7 separate regions of the Homo sapiens genome follow, and regions 1, 2, 4, 5, 6 and 7 are each linked to region 3. Evidence: promoter capture Hi-C in 16 types of primary human blood cells and fetal thymus (Javierre and others, 2016). All regions are on one chromosome and are shown on one strand. The core of a region is centred on a gene start or on the middle of the fragment in contact, and the rest is flanking DNA. Distances in the headings are between cores, read along the strand shown.

What was found. Contacts are between HindIII fragments. The CHiCAGO score rates a contact against its expected background, and 5 or more counts as called.
Region 1: a contact is called between a fragment that was not itself captured here and the fragment with the promoter of LINC00636 in region 3, in 1 of 17 cell types (non-activated CD4 T cells). The highest score is 5.3, in non-activated CD4 T cells.
Region 2: a contact is called between a fragment that was not itself captured here and the fragment with the promoter of LINC00636 in region 3, in 11 of 17 cell types (M1 macrophages, M2 macrophages, megakaryocytes and 8 more). The highest score is 11.5, in M1 macrophages.
Region 4: a contact is called between a fragment that was not itself captured here and the fragment with the promoter of LINC00636 in region 3, in 3 of 17 cell types (activated CD4 T cells, total CD8 T cells and M1 macrophages). The highest score is 5.8, in activated CD4 T cells.
Region 5: a fragment that was not itself captured here is called in contact with the fragment with the promoter of LINC00636 in region 3 in 4 of 17 cell types (erythroblasts, monocytes, megakaryocytes and 1 more); the score reaches 6.4 in erythroblasts.
Region 6: a fragment that was not itself captured here is called in contact with the fragment with the promoter of LINC00636 in region 3 in 8 of 17 cell types (M2 macrophages, activated CD4 T cells, M1 macrophages and 5 more); the score reaches 7.4 in M2 macrophages.
Region 7: a contact is called between a fragment that was not itself captured here and the fragment with the promoter of LINC00636 in region 3, in 5 of 17 cell types (neutrophils, activated CD4 T cells, erythroblasts and 2 more). The highest score is 7.8, in neutrophils.

Annotation. Positions count from the first base shown.
Region 1 is chr3:107,222,016-107,224,882 of GRCh38, reverse strand. The region is part of intron 1 of LINC00882 (long intergenic non-protein coding RNA 882); the gene reads left to right. All of the region lies in intron 1 of LOC124909404 (a long non-coding RNA gene), which reads right to left. Among named protein-coding and RNA genes, the nearest start is that of LINC00882, 17 kb to the left of the region's middle. The HindIII fragment of the contact is 2,586 bases long and covers 127-2,712 here.
Region 2 is chr3:108,474,597-108,477,523 of GRCh38, reverse strand. It overlaps MYH15 (myosin heavy chain 15), which reads left to right. Exons shown (of 41, transcript NM_014981.3): 12 at 1,009-1,127. Among named protein-coding and RNA genes, the nearest start is that of MYH15, 35 kb to the left of the region's middle. The HindIII fragment of the contact is 193 bases long and covers 1,236-1,428 here.
Region 3 is chr3:107,881,759-107,884,666 of GRCh38, reverse strand. It overlaps LINC00636 (long intergenic non-protein coding RNA 636), which reads right to left and starts at 1,462. Exons shown (of 3, transcript NR_015394.1): 1 at 1,361-1,462. The HindIII fragment of the contact is 1,611 bases long and covers 160-1,770 here.
Region 4 is chr3:108,437,024-108,440,096 of GRCh38, reverse strand. It overlaps MYH15 (myosin heavy chain 15), which reads left to right. Exons shown (of 41, transcript NM_014981.3): 24 at 184-360; 25 at 2,398-2,543. Among named protein-coding and RNA genes, the nearest start is that of MYH15, 72 kb to the left of the region's middle. The HindIII fragment of the contact is 7,935 bases long and covers 1-3,073 here.
Region 5 is chr3:108,457,946-108,460,653 of GRCh38, reverse strand. It overlaps MYH15 (myosin heavy chain 15), which reads left to right. Exons shown (of 41, transcript NM_014981.3): 17 at 287-354; 18 at 1,205-1,292. Among named protein-coding and RNA genes, the nearest start is that of MYH15, 51 kb to the left of the region's middle. The HindIII fragment of the contact is 2,330 bases long and covers 160-2,489 here.
Region 6 is chr3:108,415,030-108,417,729 of GRCh38, reverse strand. MYH15 (myosin heavy chain 15) reads left to right here. Exons shown (of 41, transcript NM_014981.3): 29 at 800-918. Among named protein-coding and RNA genes, the nearest start is that of MYH15, 94 kb to the left of the region's middle. The HindIII fragment of the contact is 7,305 bases long and covers 1-2,700 here.
Region 7 is chr3:108,495,814-108,498,665 of GRCh38, reverse strand. MYH15 (myosin heavy chain 15) reads left to right here. Exons shown (of 41, transcript NM_014981.3): 6 at 521-614; 7 at 2,794-2,852. Among named protein-coding and RNA genes, the nearest start is that of MYH15, 13 kb to the left of the region's middle. The HindIII fragment of the contact is 2,061 bases long and covers 424-2,484 here.

The DNA.
Region 1 (2,867 bases), core at 170-2,669, 660 kb after region 3:
AAGCAAATGGTCTGAATTCTGATGCTAAATGAATAAAATTTTCCCTGGATCTCATTAGCCCGCACTTGGGAAGGAGGGGAGTCGGTTAATCTATTTCTTCTTGGCTTTGTCTGAACAAATCAAGCTTTGAATAAGAGGTTTAATTTTATGAAGACTGAAGTTACTAATTTTCATTGAGTACCTCTGTTTTACAGTAATTTACACATTCTTTTGAATGGTTGTTGGAATATTTACTTATTGTCCTCTGAGGCATTTTCTAATTACTTGTAAGCAAGGCTGAGGAAAAAGAAAATCCAGAAAAAACGTTAAGAAAGGGACTGTTTGGTAGACAAGGTGTATTACACATAAAATTAAAATATAATGGATACTTTTAAAAGCCTTTAGTCCATTTTATAGCTTTCTCTGCTTCTGCAAGTACATAGTAAGTGAAGATTTCCCAACTCATTATTCATTTCTACATGATGTTAGACATTTTTATGACCTCCTAGAGTACTTATAATCTGTACTACACAATTTAGCAGCTAATTATATTATGTTCATTATTATGTCATTATAAGTTCTCATCCCCTCAACTAGATTATATGATCTTAAAAGTCAGAGAGCATGTCTTCTGTATTCACATTCCAACTAGCATAACCACCACTTGGGGCATTTTAATTGATAGAAGCATATTGAGTTCTAGTCCCTCAAATTTCAGTGAATGTTATCTGTGGAGCACCTGTCACAGCTCTGGATATAGGGGCAGAGATAGGCAAGTTACTTTTTCTTTCCCAAGGAGTTTGTCAACAAGTGTTAAGTACCAAGTACTAAGGCGAGGGATTACTTTGACAGAGTGACTTCCTTTCTCTTTTTCCTTTAGTGTCAGAACAGGGCAGAGGAAAAGCAGAGAGCCTTGAGCCACCATGTCATTATCATTTTGATGTAGATGGATTATTGGCATTTTTTTACTTCTCTAGTTGGACAAAACCTAATGGTGTCTGACCCAGGAAGTCTTACTTGTCTGAGCCACTAGGCTAAATGGTTGGCAGAATTACATTTCTCTTGTTTTGAGTAAGCATCGGGGTATCAGACTCACATTTTTTTATTGTGATAAGACATACATGACATAAAATTTACCACTTTAATCAGTCTTAAGTGTACAGTTTAGTGATATTAAGTACATTCACATTGTTGTACAATCACCACCATCATCCATCTCTGGAACATTTTTATTATCCTAAACTGAAACTCTGTACCCATTAAACAAACACTTCCTATTCCTTCATATCCCCATTGCCTGCTAACCACTATTCTACTTTCTGTCTCTATGAATTTGACTATTCTAGGTACTTCATATAGGTGGAATCATACAGTATTTGCCCTTTTGTGTCTGGCTTATTTCACTTAGCATAGTATTTTCAAGGTCCATCCAAGTTGTATGAGGTGTCAGAATTCCATTCCCTTTTAAGACTGAGCAATAATCTGTTGTGTTGTAATAATCCATATATATAATATCTACATTATATATATATAATGTTTTGTTGAACCATTCATCCATTGGTAGGCATTTGGTTGTGAATAATGCAGCTATGAACATCGATATACATACTGATCCCCATTATTCTGAACACCAACACTGACTTAATGCTCATGGTGAGCAAAGTACCCTTCTTAGCCGTTAAAATGCCTGGAAGAGTCAGTGAATCTCTGGAATTTCATAACTTGAATTCAGACTTAAATACTCATTAGGAAAATATGACTTGGCAACATTTTTTAGATTAGGATCGTGACCAATACTGGGATTCAGTAAATATGTCCTGTTTATTTGTCCTTCAGAGTGTTTCCTGTGTCCATTTTTTTTCTATTTTCTCATGACTTAATTGTATATCCTCATTGCTAGGCAGCAGGACTCCAGCAGTCACATTCTAACTGGTCTCTCCCTTTCTGATTTTTCTTATAAAATGCTGCTTTGATCGTTTTACATTACTGGACAAAAATTTTCAGTGGCTCCTCATCATGTACAGGACAAAGCCCAAGCTCGTTTGCCTGGCACATAGGCCTCTTGGGATCTGGCAGCAGCGTACCACTCAGGCCCTACTTCTCTCACTTCATGTAGAAACTCTGCCCAAGCCAACATTGTCTTCTCATTACCCTCTGAATAAATTATCATTTTCTTGGATTTTCTCACTGCTGTTTGTTCCATCATGTATAAACATTTGGATGCTGTCTTCAAGTTTTAGCTTAAATATCAGCATCTCTGCTAACTTTTTTTTAAAAAAAGATTTTGAAATGATTGCTTGCTCTTTTGAATGTGTGTGCATTTATTGTAAGACTAATCATGTTAATGATGTTTTTGCAATAGCTAACATTTTTGAGCCCTTGGGCTAAAGCTAAGTGCATTACTTGCATTATTTCATTCATTTTTATAGCATTTTATATGAAGTATATACTATCATTATCCATTATACAGATGATGAATTTGAGGCTTTGAGATGCTAACTTGTCCAAAATCACACAACTGTTAAGTAACAGATCTAGGTCTTGATCTCAAGTTTTTGCCGCCAAAGCATCACTTAAGATGTATATTTATTGCATTAATTAGATTATAGGCCTGTAAGTGAATAAGGGCTTTACTGAATCCCCCATGGGAGCTACCCATCAGTGGTCAAAGTCAGTAAAAGGCTGCCCATTGAATAGAAATGTTTTTTAAAATTAGCTCACTGTGGATAAGCTTAGCATGATTTTTCAACTGGTTACTTCATACTGTTTCTTCAAGATGAGGAAAGCTTCACAACTGTTCATGTTTGATTAGGCGCATTCCTGAGGCATGTCTTTCTGTCATAGCACTGACCACACTGACCGTAGTTATCTGTAACCTGTGTGTCTCC
Region 2 (2,927 bases), core at 83-2,582, 590 kb before region 3:
CAATTTTTAAAAGATTCTGTTTCTTGATACTAGTCCTCTTTTAGAAGATTCATACACCATAATATTCACCTTTTAAACTGTATAGTTATTGGGTATTAGTATATTCTCAAGGCTGTGCAACCACCACTATCTAATTCCGGAACATTTTATTATCACAAAAATAAACTTTTAGTAGCAACTATTAGTAGTTATTTTGATTTTTGCTTCTCCTCAGCCTGTGGCAACCAAAATCGACTTTCTGTCCTTATGGATTGCCTGTTCTGAACAGTTCATAGAAATGGAATCCTGCAATATGTGGCCTTTCGTGTCTGACTCCTTTCACTTAGCATAATGTTTTCAAGTTTCAGCCATGTTGTAGTGCACATCAATACTTCATTTTTGTAAAATGACTAGCAATATCGTATTATATGAGTATACCACATTTTTTAATCCATTCATCAGTGATGGACATTTCACTTTTTCCCACCTTTTGACTATTGTGAATAATGCTGCTAGAAACATTTGTGTACAATTTTTTGTGTGAACATATGTTTTCATTTATCTTGGGTGTGTACCTAAAAGTGATATTGCTGGGTTCCATAGTAACTCTATGATTAACTTCAGAGTAACTGTCAAACTGTTTCTCACGGCAAATACACACCATTTTGCATTCCCACCCACAATGCATGAGGGTTCACATTTTTCCACATCCTTGTCAACACTTGTTATTGTCTGCCGTTTTGATTATAGTCATTCTAGTGGCTGTGAGTGGCATTATATTTTCTTTTTCCTTAATGCCAACAAACTGAAGAAGTGAGATTTCAATGTGGCTTTGACTTGTATTTCGAAGAAATAATTTCCTTTAAACTTTTAGGATTCAGGCATTTATTTGAAAACTACAATCTACTTTGCTACGCTGATGTAAACACACTATCTTTCTGTCCTCTGGGTAGTTAGTTTGGCTATAATGGAATGAATCTTAACAGTGTTTTCCTCTCTCCTTCCTTTTCTTCTATTTCTGATGACCAGATGCTGACAAAGCTGCTTTCCTCATGGGCATTAACTCCTCTGAGTTGGTAAAGTGCTTGATCCATCCTAGAATCAAAGTTGGTAACGAATATGTTACCAGAGGTCAAACTATAGAACAGGTAAGGTGATATTTCAAGAGCATTATTATTCTATGATCTTCCAATAATTGTATATATATTGTACTGTATATTTTTCAACTACTAAGGATGTTTGCAATAATGAAAGCTTCTATAAATAAGCAAAAAAGAGCTCTTGGGATGACTATTCCAAATGTTTTTACTTGTGATGCACACCACAGTAAATGCTCTTGTCTGAAACATACATTTTGAAAGTTTTCCCTTAGGTAGCAAGTATCTTTGCAGATGCAGACAAACCCTCCACTTGTTGTGATCAACATCTTTGTCATCCAGCGAGGAAGCTTTCAAAGCTGTTCATTCCTAACATGGATAAAATTGGCAAATTGGCATGCTTCACGTATTTGGCATATTGGCTCCTTTGGCATAAAAGACACATGGTGACACGTTAGTTGAGAAACAGTTTTAGGACATATGCTAAAAATCAATATTTGAAAGGAGGTGTGTGTTGAAAACAGAAATGAGAGATGGAACGCCATGCAGATTTTGTTTAGCATCCAGGAGAATGTTATAGTAGAGAATAACAAATTCTTTGAGGCTTTGCCTTAATGCAGTAAATATTCCCAGGGCCACTGGGTAATGAGACCATCTAAGCATGCTAGTATGTTTCAAAAATAATAATTTATATCTGTAGTGTGTAAGGGAAAATATGAGATAAGCTGGGCTGCAGTAATGCACACACACTAAAATCTCAGTGACAACAAAATATTTCTTACATCAAGTGCAATACAGAGTATACAGCCTTCTCTGTTTTGTAGTTCTATGTAGTTCTTTGTAGTTCTATGCCATCTGGGACACACGGCCTCCCAAGTGACTGCACAAGGAGAAAAGATCATTTGCAGAGAAAGTACAACCACCTTTAACTGCTTGGGCTAGAAGTAATATCACTTTCACTAACAGTCCATTGGTAAGAATTAGTAAAATAATACCTTTAGCTACAGAAAGGGGCTGAGAAATGTAGCCTTTCTGGAAAGAGGAAGTGGTGTCACACATAGTATGGATAAAGCATTCACAGTATTATTGCCTTCTATTCTTACAATAATACTCAGAGCTAAGTAGGGCAGAAATGCATAATTTATGTTTTTCCTAGTTGAGGAAACTGAGTCAAAGAGAATGTTAAGTAACATTCCAAAGGATATATAGCTAGTACTCAGGTGATACTGATTGTCTTACTCAGTATACACCCTAACTCTGAAAAAGAGATAGACAAATGTACAAATTTGTAATATAAGACAGTCATCTTATATATGATGACTAGAATAGATGTGTTTCCCTTGGTATATTAAGGTAACTGATGTGTCTGTGTTATTTAAAACATTTAAATGACTGATCAAAATCAATTTATTAATTTAGCTTACTCTATAAATGGATAATTCTACCTCTACTATAATACTAACTATACTATATTGAAATAATCTGCTTAGATTTTTGTCTTCTAACCTCTTTGAAGCATGAACTGTGTCTAATTCATCTTAGTACTCCAAGCATCTAAAACAATGCCCTGTAAGCCGTAAGTGCTCCACGCATGTTAAAATAGACTACATTGAGCTAAACTTGAATCACGATCAGCAGGACACATAACTGAGCTATTTCTTGGCAGGGGGTTAGAGTTGTTCAGCAGTTTCATACCTTCTTAGACATTCACCACAACATGCATGCATGACATGCTATGTTTATAGAACAGGGTTTTTCTCTGTATAAAACTAATGAGCCCAAATAGCAAGAAGAGCAGATTTGGAATGTTTCTAATATAAAGAAATGATCAGTGTTTGAGGTATAGATGTG
Region 3 (2,908 bases), core at 213-2,712:
CAGCAAAGATGTAAGTTACAATATAGCTAGAGAATTCAGATTCCATCTATGGAAATCAAATAATACAAAGTTGAAAATGTAGGTAAAGATGAAACTTGACAGACACATGATAAATTGAGTTGTGAAACTAAATTGTATCCCAGTTGAGATCTACAAGCTTGGAGTGTGCCAGGGATGAAGCAACTAAAACCAGATTATAGGAGGAGACTTGGAAGGTATTATTTGGTGGCTTAGGAAGTACCATTCTTTAAGTAACACCTAGATAGTGTCCCCAGGCCACAGTCCCTACCCCAACCTGAGTTGGTAACCTTCTGATGATCCCAAGTTTTACACAAGTAACCACAGCAGGCCCTTGATGATGGTTACTTGGGTAACCATCCTCTTAGTTGGGTAACTAAGTGTCCAACTCCAGGAAGTATAGATTTAAGTGGAATTGATTTTTGCATGTGTAAGCTATTTTATAGTCATTGTGTTGCTTCATATATGCTTTATCTGCTTTAAGATGTTTGAAATGGATAAGAGAATCTGCTTTATTAAATTTGTCTAATTTATTAAATTTATTAGATTTTCACAAAGATTGCAAATATCTTGCATGTTAGACTTGTAAGTTTGCTTAATAGGTGTTTGAATTATTTGGGAGAACTGGTTTTCAAATTGGTAATAATTGTTTGAAATGTCTAAAAATATCTAGTTAATAAAGTTTCTATATACTGTTAACATTTGAGAGATCTGATCCATAAAATTTATAAACTAATTGAGCATTAATTAAATAACAAATGAAGTTAAGTGCTTAAAATTCTTACACCATTATTAGATTTGCAAATATAGCAACAAGATTTGTGAGTTAAAAGTAAAGGCTTATAAAAACTAAGTTATAAAATTTATACCTTTTGTCAGTTCAACATTAACACAATCATAAGAAACTATCAGCATTAACTTCTGTGCAAGAAAAAAAGTCACATTTTGGGAACTAAAAACCCAATTACCATTATTAAACACTGAAGAGCAATATAACTGAAATGGAGATGAATCATCATAGCTATCATTTATTAGTTCCAACCACATAACAGTTCTGTGATAAGCTCTGCATTTGTGAGTTTGTTCATTTGTTTGTTTTTGAAGGTCAGAGATAATATAACTAAAGTATCTTGCCTCTTAAGTATATGTTAAACTGAACTGACAATCTTTTTAAATCTAAAAATATTACTTCACATACCAATCACAGTTCCTTTGCTCACAGGTAACAGAAAATCGGTCTAACTGTTTAAATCATAATAACAGCAACAACAGTAATAATATAAAGATTTTGTGGTTCAAGTAATTTAAGAAACCCAGAAATGGAAGGAGGTGTACTACTTACTTGGATCTCCCTTCAAAAAAGAACAAACTATCCACGTGTGCAGGATGCCGGTAACTGACAGCCGCCAGCCAGTGGGCATTAAGGGTCCTCTACAGTGTTGAGTTGGAACAACAGTGTTGAGCTTTCTCGACAGCCCTGGCGAATAAGTACAGTGGGAGTACTAGTGTCTGGGCATTTCCGCCCATTGTCATACTCTTCCAACAAGCAGCTTTTGCTCTAGATCTCCCTTTGGTGCTGGCAGAGACTTTATGAAATCTGCATCACAGTTTGAGGCCCTTCCTGCCCAATCCTGCGGGGTTTCCCTTTGTTTTCACAGGTGTCAGGCCTGGATCAAGGTCTGAAGGGTTTTGCTGCCCATATATTTCCTGTGCCTTGCTTTTATCTTTCACAAACATTACCTCAATAAAGCTTGGACACTGGTAATTCCATCTCCATATCTGCTTACCAGATGACCCTTCAGGTAAGCTTGCTCCAGCAGTTTAATGATGTCCCAGGACCGACTTCCTTTCTGTGTCTCAGCCTTCCCCAGTGGCAGAATAGCCCTAAAACTATTTTGATAGCTTCACCATATCAACATAGTTACCAGAACAACTGGGGTGGTTGCTTCCTGATTCACAACCAGTGGATGAAGGGAGCATCTTTTTTTAGCATCCATGAAAGACAGAATAATTTTATTCTCCAGATGCTCCCCATCAAACATCTTCTCTCTTTTTGACAAAGTTTGGATCATAATGCCATCCCAACCACTGTAACTAGGGCCCATCCCTGGAGCTGCTGTGAGATTAGTCCCAACCAATCTGCATGTCCCCATCAGAAAGGGAACAGAGAGAATGAATGCTGGGGAGGCAATCACTAAATTTCCATGACTACGAACATAAGCATCCTCAAACAATATCACACCACGGAATTAGTCTCATGAAGACACCGCTGCTACTAACAATGTGTATAGAAATTGGAGCATAAACCACTAAGAATACAGGCTGTAGAGGCCAGAAACCATTGGAACTGCACCGCTGCAGTTTCTGGAAGCTGAATGTCCTGTTGCTTCTGTTCCCGGTGTTGCCAGAGTAGACTCTGTAGAGTTCTTCCTTCTTCAAGTCACTGTATTTAATTCAAACACGAGCTGGTGCATCCTGCAGGCAGAGCCTACAGCTTGAGCCAATGTACTGGTTTCAGGAGAAGCAAGGGAGAAACTGTCTATTTCATCCCAGAGTGGGAGAATGTCACCTGTGGCATCACATGCAGAAGATTCCAGATTCTGGATTCTTTTGCGTTTGCTTTAGTTCTGCTAAAGTCTCCTGTGTATGATCCTCAGAAAGACATATGAGGGTTTTCCTCAGAACCTAAATTCTGTGAGTAAAGAATGCACTAGTGCTGAAACATTTGGGGCAAGAACAAGCATCAGTCACAACCGTCAACAATCACTCTCAGTTTTAACTTCTTTGGGGAAGCTGGTTACCGTACTTAAAACACTTGTATTCCATTTTGTTTTGTTAGTAAGACAAAAATGTATTGCCTTTATTAATACCAAACCCGTAGACTTTATAC
Region 4 (3,073 bases), core at 372-2,871, 560 kb before region 3:
ATTTTTGTGGGAGAAAAACTAAATGTAGCTTTAGAAAGCGTATCAGGAATTTGGCTAAATACAGCTTTTTGTGACATTGGATACCTCATGCGTAGTTTTGGACGACAGAAGAGAAATGACCCTCAGTGTTATGCCCAACTTTCCAGCAGTGGCTTTAATGAAGCTGTCATCTTCTTCCCACAGGTCAAGAACTTGACTGAGGAAGTAGAGTTTCTAAATGAGGATATCAGCAAACTTAACAGAGCAGCCAAGGTTGTGCAGGAGGCCCATCAGCAGACCCTGGATGACCTGCACATGGAGGAGGAGAAGCTCAGCAGCCTGAGCAAAGCAAATCTGAAGCTGGAACAGCAAGTTGATGAGGTCAGTAACGGTGTATCTGGTTAGTTATCTATCTGTCTACATATACACATAACTCCAGTTTTTACTTCATTAATTTATCTTGACAGTTTCAGAAAAACCTAGTAGCATAGTTTGTTTTCCTGATTATTGAGAATAAAAGGGTTCTTTTTCTTATACACAAAACCACGATAGTATAAGAGAGGTCTCTGCATATAATCTGTCGGTTTTTAAATGCAATTTTCATTCAACCCTGGGCAATGGAAAAAGAACATTAAGATGAATGGTAAAGGGTTATCACTCTAGGTGACTGGCTTTTCCCCATATCTCCCACAGAACCTGGTATTTTGCCCCACAGATATGCTGGTACTCTATTTACCACTAGTGTTGAAGGATTAGTTTTAAAGGCCATGTGTGTTTCCAGTGGTGTGCTGAGATTTATTTATGGTTGAAAGATATGTGAGCCACAAGTTGTGTTCTACCTACACTATTGGAAAATACTTTTAAGATTCTAGAGATGATGCCCCTATTTTGCCTCTAAATGCCCTGTGAAATAAAGCTGTTTCACACCAGTTTCAATGTGTGGGTTCATAATTCTTCCTTTTTCCCACCCCAGCTGACATAGTGTATGCATTTATGCTCACAGTAGTCCCCAAAGTGTAGCCTTTATAAAATTGTTGACAAGAGTGGTTAGGTTTTTTTTTTTTCTTCTTATCTGCTGCTCTTTCTTCCTGCCTCTATATAAATTTCTTCTATTATCTATTCGTTGTGTTACATTTGTTCCTATTTCCAATAATAACATATCTCACAAAGCCTCAGCATAAGGATTTTTGGGTGTTTATATGTGTGCTTATATATGCACATCACACACACCTACCCACACCCACACACCCACCCACACACTTATTCTCTCCTGGTGTCTTAGTCCATTCAGGCTGCTATAATAAAATACCATAAACTGGGTGGCAAATAAATAGCAGTTTATTTCCTACAGTTCTGGAGGCTGGGAAGTCCATGATCAAAGTACCAGCAGAGTTGGTGTCTAGTGAGAACTCATTTCCTGGTTTATGGAGGGTGACTTCTCCCTGTGTCCTCACATCACACAAGGAACAAGGGAGCTCTCCAGGATCTCTTTTATAAGGACTAATTCCATTCATGGGGGCTCTACCTTCATGACCTCATCACTTCCTAAAGGGCCCACCTCCCAACACCATCATACTGGGAATTAGGATTTCAGCGTATGAATTTGGAATCCTTTCCAGAATTTCTCCCTCCTTCCCAATTTGAATTTCATCTCTTTGGCTGGTTACAGAGGATATCTTCCATTGTTTTAAAGTAAACATATCAATAAATAAAAAGCCATATTGTGACTGTTATCTAGCTTCCTGGAAAATTAACCTCTATATAATTCCTGGCAATACTAATCCATACAAAACTGGAATGTTCTGATGGGGAACATTTAGTGAGGAACCAGAATATGACATAATGTTATGAACTGGAAGAGGGTACCAAGGTGGTGACGGGGCTTGGAAATCATGACATGTGAGAATGTGTTTGAATGGGCCAGTGATGCCAGGGGGTTCTTGCAAATTATTAAGGATGATCATGCGGAAACTGATTTGCTTGGTGTTGCTCCAGGGAGCAGAGCTTGTACTTGTGGATAGAATTTACAGGGAATATTTTGGCTTCTTATGAAGAAGCACTCCCAAGTAAATGGACTTATCCACCCGTGAAATGAGCCGCCATGTGAAGAAGTGAGCTTCCTATCATTGGAAAACGATCAATCAAGGGCTCACTGGCCATTTCTTGTTGGTTCCTTCCCTAAGACAGAACTCATATTCTGTTATTTCTAGTTTTCTTCCATCCCTGTGATTTCTGGATTCTTTTGTTAACCTATTGACATATGCAATATTTATTTGGAAATATCTATGTTACTGGGCATCATTTATAGAATTTGTGCTTGTGTCTTTCTTTTTCCAGAAGGTAAGTGGTTAATGAACACATCTAGTGAAGTATAAACTCTACCTATTTATTTAGCTAAATAATGTTTCCTTTTGTCAGCTTGAGGGTGCCCTTGAGCAGGAGAGAAAAGCGAGAATGAACTGTGAAAGGGAACTGCACAAACTGGAGGGCAATTTAAAGCTGAATCGGGAAAGTATGGAGAACCTGGAAAGCAGCCAGCGACACCTGGCAGAAGAGCTGAGGAAGTAAGCCACCTTTCTGTTGACATGAGATTGCTGGAGACCTTATATTAGAAGGAACAGCTTTCTCATTTCATTTATCCTTAGGACTCCAGGGCCAGATAGCTCAAGACCCAAGGCAAGGATAACAAGCCTAGGAAACAATTTTTTTTTTCTTTACTGGACTTTATTTTATAGTTGTAAAGAGACCAGATGCATAATCTAGAAGGACGTAACAGAAAATACCTGACTAGCAAATGAGAAAGAATGGTGTAAGGTATATGAGATGTAAACTTTTGGGAACTTGCAGCTATACGTCAAAAAAATAAAAATGACACTCTTCTTTTTACTCATGACGAGACCAATGGCATAAAATGTAAAAAAAAAAAAAAAAATTGATCCTGATGTGAAGACTTACATACTCAGATTACTTAAATAATATATGTTTGCCAGACATAACTTAATATTTATATAGGAATTTGGTGAAATAATTTACTATATAAATATTAAACCTTAAAATCTAAAACAAGCCATGAAAATGATCAAAATTAGGGAAA
Region 5 (2,708 bases), core at 75-2,574, 580 kb before region 3:
TGATGTGCATTTGTTGATGAATTTTATTTTTGCTTAATTTTTTTGCAATGACTAAATAATGCTTCAGTGAGTATCATTGCACAGTTGCCTGATTATATCCTTAAGGAAAAACACTAAAAATATACATTTTGTGATAAAAGACATAAATATTTTGAAGCTTTTGGTAGATATTGCCATATTGTTCTAGAACTCTGGTGAATTTATGCTTCCATCAGTGGGGTAGGATAATGTGATAAAAATGAGCTTTTTACATGTTTTCATCTTTTTCTTTTTTTTTTTTTGCTAGCTATACCATTTGGGGAGAAGAAACGAAAGAAAGGAGCTTCATTCCAAACGGTTGCATCTCTGCATAAAGTAATTTTTAATTGCGTCTATTCATATATTAATTGCCTCACAATCTGCATATGTTATTATTTAGTTGACATTTCACATCTTCAAATAAGGATAAAGTATCAGGAGCTAGCAAGTTGGAAAAGTTGAAGTTTATGCTGTTATTATCAAGGGCTTTAGAGGACACTGTTTGTTCCCACTTACATCCCCTTTATCATGCCTGCACCCATCTTCCAGCTGATGTGCATATTGGCTCATAACAACTCTGAGTTGTCAGAATTGCACTTAGCCAAAGGGGAAACTAAGCTGCCTCTTTGCCCTCCTCTCCAGACTTTAGCCTCTCCCTTGCCTCAAGGGAGACCACCTATGCTGCAATTGGTGCATTCGTGTTTACAGCTCTTGCTTGCAAGGATCAGACTAAAGCTGAGTCTGAATCATTGCTTTTCTCTTCCCCTGCTGTTCCCAGCTTTCTTCACTCCCTAAAAATCTCTTGAACCAGAATTCCCATCTCAGGTTTGGCTTCTAGAGAATCTGACCTAAGATAAAGGTTTTCCACAGAGAGAGAACTTGAGAAACAATTTCTTTTTTCAAGCCATTTTATAGCCCAGCCATAACTTTGATATTGCTATCAAATTCAAAATAGGTAGAGATGATTCACAATTTAACTATGTCTGTCAAATAAATATTGACTTGCCATAGGAAAGAAATAATGTGCATTTGGTAGGCAGTAAAGAATGTTGAATTCATTATTTTACTGTTAGAATACATCTTGGCTGTGAGATTAAGTTGATAGATTTGGAGACATTTGTGAGGTGGATTGGTGTTTTTAGTGATTTGCAAAGTGATTTTGTGTTTATTATGGTCTCCATTTTAGGAAAACCTGAATAAATTGATGACTAATCTGAAATCAACAGCACCTCATTTTGTGAGATGCATAAATCCCAATGTGAACAAAATACCAGGTAAGAACTAGATTTCTTTGTAATTCACACTAGGAAATAGATTTGATATTAGCTATATTGAATATCTTTTAAAGAAATATTTATTGGTGCCTTTTATATAAGGGTAGAATTTCATATAGAAAAATGAAAATATGTTAAAAATGAGGTCTTTGGAACCTCCTCAATATTGCCATTGAAATGGATGTACAGAAGGGTTTCACAAAGCGGTCTCAATTGGGCAACATTAGAATGTTTGATATTACTATTTAAATTCTTCCTTGAATTTTATGCTGAACATGAGTGAGCTCCCATGCCATTGTCTACAAGGACAAACTATAATAAAAATGGAATTGAATAATCAATTAGGGGATTAAGGTAGATATTTCAGCATAAAGGAAGTTATTTGGTCTGAGTTATCTAAATTGACCATAAAGACACTTCCTAAATCCATTTCTAATTGTTGAGAACACCCTCTAGTCCTCCTTGCCAATGCCAACATCTTCTTCCCTCTTTCTAATAGCATTCATTTTTTTTTTTAGTTATGTAACTCTGGGTAGTGGCTATCTTTTGATCAGTGAATAGTGGTAGGGGGATGATGTGATAGGTGGATGGTAGTGATTTTTTTTTTTAATGTTTTCAATTCCCCAAACAAGGGTTTTACCAAAATTAACTACATGGATTGCTTTCCTTACTTCATGAGCTTGAAGATTCCCAGCCACCTCTTTGGAGTTACTGGCCCCTCTGGAGCTTGGTTTGGAGGCTGTCAGCCTCCAAGGAATGTATATGACAAGCCCTATGTCTTCAGAGCACTAACCACCCTTATAATACATAGCCAGATGTTGCTGGTTCTGATCTCTGAGGTTCCATAGTAGCTTGCATTTTTATTAACCTCCTGTAATTAAGACCCCAATCCTGACAGTCTATGGCCTATTTTGGGAAAGTGTGATACAAAACAATGATGCTGCAGTTTGAGTTTCTGCGATACAAATACTTTCATGTTCATTCACGGCTGTATGTTTGTGCCTCATTGTTTCCTATCAGCTGGGTTTCTGGATGTGTCTAGGGACACTGCTTCCATCTATCAAGGAATCTAATTAGCTGAGTTCTATTTTGGAGCAATTCTGTTACCTATTAGAGTTGCTTCCCATCGAGTCAACTTGGATTTCAGCAGGTTTGGTTTTTTTCTTAAAGTCATAAGACAAAGTCATAAGAAAAGCTTCATGATCTAATCAAAACAGTTATTCATATGTACTTAAAGAGAATGAGTGAGTCTGATGTTAAGGTGTCATAGGATTCTACTCCCTGTACCCCTCCCTTTTTTAAAAAAAATAATTTGAGACAGAGTCTTGCTCTGTTGCTGAGACTAGAGTGCAGTGGCTGAAGTGCAGTGGTATGATCTTGGCTCACCACAATCTCTGCCTTCTGGGTTCAAGCAAT
Region 6 (2,700 bases), core at 71-2,570, 530 kb before region 3:
ATTGAGTTAAATTGTAGGACCTCGGTAGGTTGAATTCACAAAGCAGAACTTACAGATATGGAAGGCCCGACTATAATTAATAGGATAAGTTAAGCAGGGACGATAGACTAGAGTATGATAGAATTTCTCCCTCTCATCGTCACATTTCCTACCATTTAGTGACTACTGCTAATATTTATTTAGCATTTCAGTCTATAAAATATATTCACACTAATTTAGTTTTCATTAAGAATCTTATTGTTATCTTCATCTTACAAGTGAGGTAATAAAAGTTATAATTATCTAAAAATTATATAGACAGAAGTGTACAAAGCCACATATAATAAACAAGGGAGTATGGTATAGAAGAATGTGGTCTTCAAGAACTTCATTTGAATCTACCTTCACCAATTACGAACTGTGTATGTTTCTGTTTCAGTCATATTTAAGTTGCTCTGTTTCCTCCTCTGCAAAATGGTTAGTATAATACCTACACTATCAAGGAGTTATGAAAATTAAACTAGATAACATACGTTAAGTACCTAGAGCATAGAAGTTTCTCAATAAATGGTAACTAATATCATCTGTTATCGATTCATACTTATTACTAAAAATCAGCTCATTTTTAGGACTCTCTTCTGAGTCCTGGAAAGGATCATTGCCACGGTTTTGCTGAATAATAGGACTCTCAGACCCTTCCTAAATATCAAAAATATGTGGGTAGGAGTCATTCTGGCTACCCTTAAAGTCAGTAAGTCAAGTGAAGGAGGCAATAGATAGGAAGACTGTAATTATGTAGTTTTGTGAAATCTTTCTGTAGGCGAGTTCCTACGGAGGCTTGAAGAGAAGGAGGCTCTGATAAACCAACTTTCCAGGGAAAAGAGCAACTTCACTCGGCAGATTGAAGACCTGAGAGGGCAGCTGGAAAAGGAGACCAAAGTAATGTATCTATTATTTCTCACTAGTTTCTTGACTGTGTGTTTTTTTTTTTAAAAAATAGTGCTTGATGAATCAGCCTGAAGATGTTTTGTAAAAGAAGAAGGGAAAATGCCCTAGAAGTTATGGGGGAAAAACCATGCCAGGAAGAACCCTGATGACTGAAGGATCTTCCTCGGTGATTCAAATTGCTTCGTTGCAGGTTTAGAGCAAGCAAAGTGTGTGTTCCCATCTTGTATAAGTACTTGAACAGAAGGGCAGCAAGGCTCTTTCAGGATTTTGATTTTGAAACTGCTCATAAAAAAGTGAAATTAAATAAAAGCCTAGAATAAAATAAGTGGGACTGGGTTAGCTCAATATTACTTTTAAATTGTCAATAAATTATAGAAATTAGTCATTTCTTCCTATGAGTGTATAATGTTGCTAGAAGGTGACTCCAGTGGAAGTGATTCTGGAAGATGAAAGCATAGTGACTAACATGAGATATGAATTCTTTGAGCCCTGATATTTAAATGAATTCTTAGTTCATAGTCAAGGCATCTTATTACTAAGACCCCAAACTATCTTACTTGTACATGACCATACTATGAAGGCGTATACTGTGAAAACACAGGTAGTTGAGTCTGTTTTAAAATATTGTACCATTTTATTCCCTTAACTCTCCATACTTTCTATATTATATACAAATTTAAAAATGTATCATTGTTTGTGCATCAGACATTGTACCAGATACTTCTGTCATGTTATCTCAATCTTCATATCAGTCAAATGAAGCAGATAGAATTGCATCCTTATATATGAAAAAACCAAGGCTCTGAGAAGAAAAATATCATGTCCAAGGTCATACACCTAGTGATGTACTGTGAAGGAACTTAAACGCATAGTGAAATGAGTTATATTTTAGAAGATCTCTCTGGCTGCCTTCCCAGTGACTTCCAATTGGCCTACAAGCCCCCCTGATCTGGCTCCAGCCTCCTTCTGTGACCTACTTCCTACATCTGCTTCCCTCATTTACTCCCCTCCAGCTGCCCTGGCTTCCCTTCTGCCTCTTAAACCAGGCACCATCACTCCTGCCTTAGGACTTTTATAACTGCCCTTCCCGTTGCTTAAAGGCCCTTCACCGAAGTCTTAGAGGGATGATGAGAAGGAGCCAAACATTCTAGATCGTGTTTATCTGCTGTGTTTGTTTTACTGCTATTAGAAATTTTATTTATTAATGTATTTGCCTGTGTATTTTGTGTATCCCCTTATTTCTTTTGGGCTCTTTAGGGCAGGGATTTTGTCTTTGTCTTGTTTACTTCTATAATTAAATATATGCCATGTAAATGCCACATAAAGGTTTTAAAAGTTTTTCCTTTAAAGAAAAATAAAATTAAACAAGAGGAGAGGTCACAGTTTGAACCCAAGTTCATCTGACTCCAAAGCCTGCATCCTTTTCAGAGTCATTGTGTATTGTGGCTCCTCATTTACCACCCAAAGGGGTCTGGCTGAGGCTGCCATTAACTAAACCTTGTGCCCTCAGAGCTGTATCTTCCTGAAAATGTGCTTTTTTCCTAATTTGCATAAAGGACACTTGAGGACCCGTCAGGATCTAGTGTTCTTTCCACACTAGATTATCTCTGGGGAATAATGCTGCTAGGTTAGCCAGATCACCATTTAAATGATAAAAATGTTTATTAAACCCAGCAGGGCCGTCCAATACATATAGAAGCCTCTACTACACTACAGGTAACTATTTAAATTTATATTAAAGTTAAATAAAATTAAGAATTCAGTTTTGATCAC
Region 7 (2,852 bases), core at 205-2,704, 610 kb before region 3:
ATTCTATGATGCTTACATTGAGGAGGCTATAAATTTGCCACTGTGCTCTTCCCACATTGCAAAGTTAGCTGGTTGTCAAAGGTAAGGTAAAGCCTAAAGCCCAACTGCCTGGTGAAGTGATTGGTAGCCCTCTTCTGAGAAGAGGGTTGGACTTGGCTGTGTGGTAGCCTTCATACATGAAAATCTCTTGAACAGCTGGTAATGAGGAGACTTGTCTAGTTAGAAGAGGTGCTTTCCTGCTGCTTGTTATTAGGACCACAAGGAACAGGCTTCCTAATATTTACAAAAAGTTGTGATCTTTCTAACTCCAGATTTTTGCTCATGCTGTTTTTCCAGCCTGAAATGTCCTTGCCCTTCTCCCAACCAATTAAATGTCAATATATCCTCAAGTTCCATCTGAAGCTCTACTTTTATGTAAAAGCTTCCCTGCTTGCCATAGCCTATATAATCAAAATTACCTAACTTTCGTTGCATTGATAATCAGAACCAGTTAACTGTATCACTGAATTTCAAATCACAGAGGAGAATCTGGTGCTGGAAAGACTGTGAACAGCAAACATATTATCCAGTATTTTGCCACCATAGCAGCCATGATTGAATCCAGGAAAAAGCAGGTAAGTGTTTATATAGCTTGGTAGAAAAGATGAGGTGGCCCTATCCACTGGATCATGGAGGTTGTGTCCGGACCACTTTTGGGAAGTGAGGCCACAAGCACCACAGGACAATTTGCAAATTATAGAAAAGTATTTTTTTAAATATTTCCTTTGGTCCTTGAGAGGATCATCAAGTGCTCCAAACAATAACATGAAAACATGAATTATGTAATTAATTTCACATCTGCTTAAAGGGGCATTTTCTGGCCTGGTCTTTGTTTATTGGACCTGTAAGTTAAGTCCTCAAGATTCAAACCATCTTACCTAAAGGCTAGGGTCATCAGTGGCTTGGATATTTCTGAATCCCTTTAGCTACTGTGAGATATCAGATTCCCACAAATATGCACCAATAAAATTTTTCTTCATTCATACCTAACTCCTGGATCAAATTCTAAATGCCCAATGAATATACCCCTCAATGTTAATCACATACCACATTCAGAAAAACTTTGCCTTCCCTATTAAAAAAAAAATCCTTGTTCATTTTAGTTTAGCTTACTTTGTTTAGCTCCATTAACATGTTAATGGACATCATAATAACTTGAGGATAACTAAGACCATAAACATTGGTATGCAAAATAAAATCAGGTAATGCTGAATGGAACTCAAAATCAATGAGTTATTGAGCTGTTAGACCTCTCATTTTTCTATGTCTGGAATGATTATTTTGCTTTTTTCAATTCGATACTGGATGTTTGCTGTTTTTGCAAAGTAAGAAATATATTAAAATAGCCATCTGACCTAATTTTTAAACTATAGAAGTTTCTTTTTTTTACCACCACGTTCCTGAATTTGATTATTGATTTCTTTGGGTATCATTGAGCTCTTTTTTTTTTTTTTTTTTTTTTTTTTTTTACGGAGTCTCGCTCTTTCGCCCAGGCCGGACTGCAGTGGTGCTGTCTCGGCTCACTGCAACCTCCGCCTCCTGGGTTCACGCCATTCTCCTGCCTCAGCCTTCTGAGCAGCTGGGACTACAGGTGCCCGCCACCGTGCCCGGCTAATTTTTTGTATTTTTAGTAGAGACGGGGTTTCGCTGTGTTAGCCAGGATGGTCTCGATCTCCTGACCTCGTGATCCTCCCGCGTAGGCCTCCAAAGTGCTGGGATTACAGGCGTGAGCCACCGCCCCTGGCCATCACTGAACTCTTTTATTCACTAGATGTAACTTTGTTTTTACAAGCATTTTAGATGTTTGTGGTTTTTTTTTTTTTTTGGTGCGCATTAAATGGTTTGGTCTAGCCATTGAGTTTTATGATAATATATAATACAATACATAAATATAACACTCCTATGGAAATCCTTGCTCATATATATATAATGTTCTCTAACTTATTTGAAGGACAGTAAACCCATATTACTGAAAAGGGATATAATATTTATAAATCCATAAATTATTGAGTACAGTATACTATATAAGTCCCCCCATAAGATGGGGAATATTATATAGTAGTAGGGATATAAGAAGGGATATAATATTTATAAATCCACAAATTATTAAATACCATATACTACATAATTACCCCCATAAAATTGGTCTTTGAGGCTGACTGGAAAACAACAAAGCCATGTAGATATGGTAGATAGGTAGATGATCTGTTTTTGCCTATCAGCCTGAGCACACGTGATTCAAATTCAAGATCAATACTATTAAAAGTCACTACTCATGTGAACCTCTAGATTACTTAGGAAAAGAAGCAAGCAAAAGTATAGTTTAATAACACCAAGAGTCTGTTGTATTATCCTAGGATAAATTTCCAAGTGCAAAGATCGGATGGGAAGAGAGGAAGATTAATGATGGGGGAAATATATGATATGTTTGTCTGGAAATAAGCTTTGGTATGTTTTTCTTTTTTATTTGGTGACCATTTGCTTTTCCCCCTCAGGCCAATGCCAACCAAAAAAGAAGCATTGCAAATAAACGAGCTCCCACATATTCATAGGGGTATTGTATATTGTTAGCCTCTGTCATCCAACTGTTTTTCTGATTTCTCATTCGAAGATAATATAACCAAATTTGGAAGCAGCTTTTGGCCATTGGTTATCAAAGCAAGAATGGGGTTTGACCTGGAGATGGAGGGCTTGCCGCATTACAGAATTCTACTAATAGTTTCATCAGCTGTACTTCTCTTGCATGTGTCTCAGGGGGCGTTAGAAGATCAAATCATGCAAGCGAATACTATCTTGGAAGCATTTGGAAATGC